Regions from separate parts of the Homo sapiens genome. Here region 1 is linked to region 2. The links are contacts of gene promoters, found by promoter capture Hi-C in human tissues and cell types (Jung and others, 2019). All regions are on one chromosome and are shown on one strand. The core of a region is centred on a gene start or on the middle of the fragment in contact, and the rest is flanking DNA. Distances in the headings are between cores, read along the strand shown. Region 1 has its middle 14 kb from the start of PTGDR. Region 2 holds the start of NID2 (nidogen 2).

The links. The method cuts DNA at HindIII sites, captures the fragments that hold promoters and counts their contacts. A contact is called where the count stands out against the background at its distance.
Region 1: a fragment that was not itself captured here is called in contact with the fragment with the promoter of NID2 in region 2 in 1 of the 25 tissues and cell types used here (mesenchymal stem cells).

Annotation. Positions count from the first base shown.
Region 1 is chr14:52,280,668-52,283,367 of GRCh38, forward strand. It overlaps a transcript of PTGDR not described here. Among named protein-coding and RNA genes, the nearest start is that of PTGDR, 14 kb to the left of the region's middle. The HindIII fragment of the contact is 3,101 bases long and covers 1-2,700 here.
Region 2 is chr14:52,067,646-52,070,345 of GRCh38, forward strand. NID2 (nidogen 2) reads right to left here and starts at 1,414. Exons shown (of 22, transcript NM_007361.4): 1 at 1,122-1,414; 2 at 213-518. The coding sequence starts at 1,349. LOC105378180 (a long non-coding RNA gene) reads left to right here and starts at 1,591. Exons shown (of 2, transcript XR_943864.4): 1 at 1,591-2,700. The HindIII fragment of the contact is 10,101 bases long and covers 1-2,700 here.

The DNA.
Region 1 (2,700 bases), core at 155-2,654, 210 kb after region 2:
CTGATTGTTTCCTCTGCTCTATCGTCTGCATTATCTACATATGTAAAAATGCAGATTCACTGAGCCAGACAAAGGCATGAATGACTGTTTTCCCCTACCCTCTTCTCACATGAAAATTATGTATTTCTCAATATCCTTCCCTTTCCCCTTTAGATATTGAAACCCTCAAAATCATCTATGGGGAAAGGAATAGACCTATCTCCCAGGTGTGTATCCTTAACTTTGGCAAATAAACCTCAAAAAATGATTGAGATTTTCCTGGGTCATTTTCCTTGATTGACCACGGAGGGATCCTGAGTGAAGGTGGCCCTGGCCTGCAGCAGCTCTCCTATTGGTACCAGATTGGGCTCTTTATAGCCCAAACCAATAAGACAATTTGTTGAGGTCTGGGACCTCCTCCCTGCAGGAAGTTGGGGCTCTGAGGTTTAATTTGATGTTTAAAAAAAAAAAAAAAACACCTCTTTTTTTTTTTCTGGGAGTTTTTGCTTGCTTCCATCAGGGAAGGCAAGCTTGTCTGCTTCTTCATCAGTGGAGAACAGTCTTCAGCTTGAGTCTCATCACTAGGTAAGGAGGTGAGTTGGGAATCTGTCTTGCAAATTCTCTTTAATAACTAAAGGTACTGTTAACAACCAGCTGGTCTTAATTTCTCCTTACATTTAGAGCACTCAAATTGTATAATTTGTGTGATTGCTGTTCGTTTTGCTTAGATGTCTTATTTACTTGTTTCTGTCTTGTTAGGTGTTTTTTTGTATGCTTCAGTCCTTCTCTTATTGGATTTGGCCAACTCTAAACCCTCTAGCTTATAGTATGGAATTTTCCTCTCCAAAGAAATAAGAGCTCGCCCTTCTCAGCCTTTCTTAGGCAACTGAGAATTACATGAGGGTGTCTGGAAGAAACACTCCCTAAGATGTGCAACGGCTCTGAGTAGGATTTCCCCTCAGAAGAACGTACTTAGGGTGTAATCTCAGCTAGCAGGTGCAAATAAGGAGCTGATCTCCCATGCCTTGAGCCCCTGACACACTGTGCCAGGTAGCCACGATACCAGTTCAGCGAGTAACGGCCCTGAAAAGCTAGGTCCCCAAGCAGCACACTTTGGATCCAACAAACCCTCCGACTTGGTCAAATCTGAAGGAAAACTCTAAATTATGTGGAAGGAGCCCTTTAAGTTGGCTGAAACCCCCACAGCTGTGGAACACAAAGTTCCACCCTTAGAAACTCTGGCCAGGTATATGCAAAAACACTTATGGTGAATTGTCATGCAAATATTTAATCAAGTGGACCACTATAATCAAGGCAGATTCTAACCTACAGAGGCCTAGATGGGGATCTTCTGAGATGCCCAAATTAGTGTACCTGTGAACTAGGATGCAAAACGCAGGCACAAAACTAAACAACCAGAATGGGAGAGCTACTTTCAATGGTACCTAGAGAGTAGCAAATGGGGGGAAGATCACCTCATGTCCTTACAATAAGCCAACAAACAACTTAGAAATGCTAACCAAGGACTCTCTAAAGTTCTATCTCTCTTAAAGAAATCCCCAGAATCCCTTACTTCCCTGTGGCACCTCCCCACCTCCACTTACACCCCCACTTTACCCCTGACCTCTCTGAACTTCCCGGACCAGATCTGTTCCCTCCTTCTCCTGCATGTTCTAATTTAACATCTTCCTCTCCTTGTACACCACTCACTCAACAGAAGGCAGTAGGGAGTCTAACTTCCAAGACCCTACCTCCTGACAATTCCCTGACAGTGCCAGTGGCAGCCTCTCATCTGGAAGATGTGGAAAAGGGGGACCCTGCAGGGCCATCTCTCATGATCACCCTGTTTTGGGAACAACCGGTAACACATAGGGGAACCCCGGTGATTGTCTACCAACGCTGGTCAAAGGCTGAGTTGCAGGGCATAAAGAATTTCTGGGCCCCCATAAGATCCAATTGAGTTTGCCCAAGAATTTGAATTCATTATCAGAACCTATGACCCAGGCCATTCAGACCTCTAACAGCTGGCACACATGTTGGTCTCGGAAGCTAAAGCTAAGGAATAGCTGGACAAAGTACAGTGGTCAGACCCTGTAGCAGACTTAACCCTTGAAGGCCCAATAGAGCTACAATAACCAGCCCCCAGAAGTCGAGAACACAGACACAAAGATGTGTGGGAATGAGCAACTGCTCTGTTAAATACCATTTCTTCAATATTCCAAAGGGTTGTGGATTGGGATAAAATCCAGCAATGCCACCAGAACCGAAATGAATCAATTTTAGATTATTTTATACATTTTGACTGAGATAATATGCTCCAAATAATTAACTTACACTCTCTCGCCTGGTCCTTCTGACGAAACCCCTCATGACTATGTTCTGATGACTGACCAACTTCTCACTTCTGGGACAGACTTACAAGAGATGCCACTGGATAATGCTGAGATAGAATGGTATACAGATGGGTCTTATTTAAGAGGATGGGGATGGAAATTTTAGAGCAGGATATGCTGTGGTCTCTTTACTAGAGGTAGTTGAAGCTGGTCCTCTTCCTCAAGCCAAATCAGCTGAAGGGGCCAAATTGATTGCCCTGACTCAAGCTTGTCGATTAGCAAAAGACAAGGCTGCAAACATACCCTGACACCTGCTAAGCATTTGGAGTTGCTCAGGACTTCGGAATGTGAAAGGAGAGAGGATATTTAACCTCCTCAGGGCAACCCA
Region 2 (2,700 bases), core at 164-2,663:
TCAAGGGAGTGACCACCTGCCAGGGCCTCAGAAGATGCCTAGAGACAACGTCTTTCCTCACTCCCAAGCCACTCCAGCCCTGCTGCCTCCAAGGTCAGGTTCAGCGCAAGAGTAGGCTCAGAAACAACTCCGAGCCAGTCCCTGGGTCGCTGCCCCAGAATTTAAGCCCATCCTTCAATTTCCTCAGCAGTCAAATATCCCTGGTCACTTACCTCTCCCGAGGGCAGCGCCCCGCGCTTGACCTCCTCGTAAGCGCCTACCTGCTCCCAGGTGGCCAGGAAGGCGTGGGTGGGGGTAAAGCGCGCAGAGCGCGGGAAGCCAGCGCGCACATAGCGGGCGGCCAGGCCCAGCACTGCGGGGGAGGTGTCCTCTCGGTACAGGACTCGGCCTCTGCCGTGGCTCGTGTCGATGTCCGCCAGAAAAGGGGCGATGGCCGGGAAGTCGGTGGGGAAATCATAGTCCACATACTGCGTTTCCCTGGGGAAGTCCTGAGTGGAGATGATGCCGTTGGTGCCCACCTGGGAGAGGAGAGGGACAAAAAGGTGACAGTCGCTCAAGCCCAAGGACGCTACCCTTTCGCGCAGGGAGGGAAGGGAACTGACTTAGGCAAAAAGCCTCTCTCTCCTTCCCCACTGGCCAGGGAGTCTGGATTCAGGGAAACAAGCGCAACTTTTGCGACTGTCCCAGCTCCGCGCTGCAGTAGGTCCAGGGGCCCTAAAACTCGTTCACCTATCTTCTCACTCCCCTCACAACCCCGGAGCCCCATGTCCTCGGAGAGGAAGCCTCCAGGTCTGAAGAGGGAACACCCCAGCTCCGCAGACGGGCACAGCCTTCTCGCGGTCCTAACTGCAAAGCCCGCTGGCCGCCCTAGCAACGCCACCTTTTCTGCCTGGGACGCGTACGTGGCTGCGAACAATTCTTGCTCTCCCCTCCAGGTCATTCTTGCTCCCCTACAGCAGCGGGGCAGGCAGCGGCATCGCTCTCTGGCCGGGTACCACCGCAAGGGTGCTGGGGGGCTCCAGGAGTGGGGTCTGTTTCCTCCCCTCTGGAGGCAGGGTTTCCGTGAGACCGACCCCAGGGAAGAAGCTGCGGGAAAAGTGCCAGGAGGGGGCTGAACTTACGTAGAGGTTGCTGAATCGGGCTTCGTAGAAGTGCAGGGGATTCGCCAGCTTCACCACGGCTGAGCTTTCGTCGTCGCCTTCCTGCAGGAGCTGGTCCCCCCACGACTCCCCGTGTGGGAAGAGCTCGTCTGGGTGCAGCGCCGCGGCCCGCAACATTAGCAACGGCAGCAGCAGTAGCACTGGTAACGACGACAGCACCGGCCGCCCGGCCACCCGGTCCCCCTCCATGCTCGCTCGGCCGTGCGCTTACCCGCTGCACAACGCGTCCCGCCCCGGCCTCCAGCCCACTCTCCGCGCCGCGCCAGCCTCGAACCTGGATCTCCGCGGGCGCCTGGGCGGGGCGGGACTCCAGGCCCACCCAGCAAGCTAATTGGCTGAGGCCCTCGGCTGGGGACCAATCACCGGCTCTGAGAAAGTTCGGCAGTGGCCACCACATCTGGTTCTCGTTAACTTTTCTAAGGCAGCGGCCGCTGGAGCAGCGGGGCTGGCGGGGTAAAAGCTCCTGGCCAGGGCTGCCTGGAGCTGCCCCTTCCACTCCGCCCCCAGGGAGCTCCCGGGTCATCCTCTCATCCGGGCTGCCCCGCGGCCCCCAAGGAGCCCCACCCCCGGGACCAAATGGCCCGCAAGGTTTGGGGCAGCGGCGTTGCAGGAGATGAGCTCAGCGCAAAGGGAACCCCGCAGCGGCGAGTGCGGCTGCTGGCCTGCGCGCTGTGGCCCCAACAGGCTGGCAGGGCGCGGGCGGGTGGCGGGGTTGCGGTATGAGCTTTGCTCCCTGCCCTGGGGTCCCGGGCGCTCCTGGCTCTGGAGGCCTGGCCATCGGTCCGAAAAGCAAAGGGACATTGTCGTGGTCCCCTCGGCCGCTTCGCTCCACCCAGAGACGCCCTGAGGAGAAGCGAGCCTTTGTACGAAGGCAGAGGGCTGACTCCTAAGTTCTGTCCCCCTCCCGAAGGCCGGCCGCTAGGGAAGACTTGGCCACCCTCTGGAAGTACCTTCCCCCGGGAAAACCGCAGCAGGAAAGACCATGAAATACTACTGTGTGTGATCCGCTCCGTTTGGGGAGTAGGATGAGGCATCCCGCTTGGTTACCAGGCAGAAAGGGGCGAGTCGCGGGGATGGGAAGACCCTGATCTCTTGCCCATTGCTGCGGCCGTCGGAGATGCCCTCCCCCGCGGCCACGGAGGCGGTAACCTGAGCTGCTCCGCAGGACTGGAAACCGCACAACCTCGAAACCAGCTGCGCAGGAGAAGGGGAACCCCATCCACCATAAACATCCCCTCTGCGAAGCCTCAGGAGCTGGAGGAGATTTTATTACCATTTTTATTATCAAGAGCTTAAAATTTCCCAGACAGTCTGTTTTCTCTCCCAGGCCCCCCATGAGGTCCTTAAAAGCAAAGATATTTAAAAAGAACGAAAGAAAGAAAAAAACCAAAAAGCAAATCCTTGGAAATGCCTTAAAGGACTCTCCAGAGACACACTGCTCTTTGTAGGTGTTTATTCCTATGGGCCCACTGGACCAAACGCTAAAAAACGTGAAGACATCAGACTGTGAGACTCATAGAGCAGACACAAAATGGAAAAC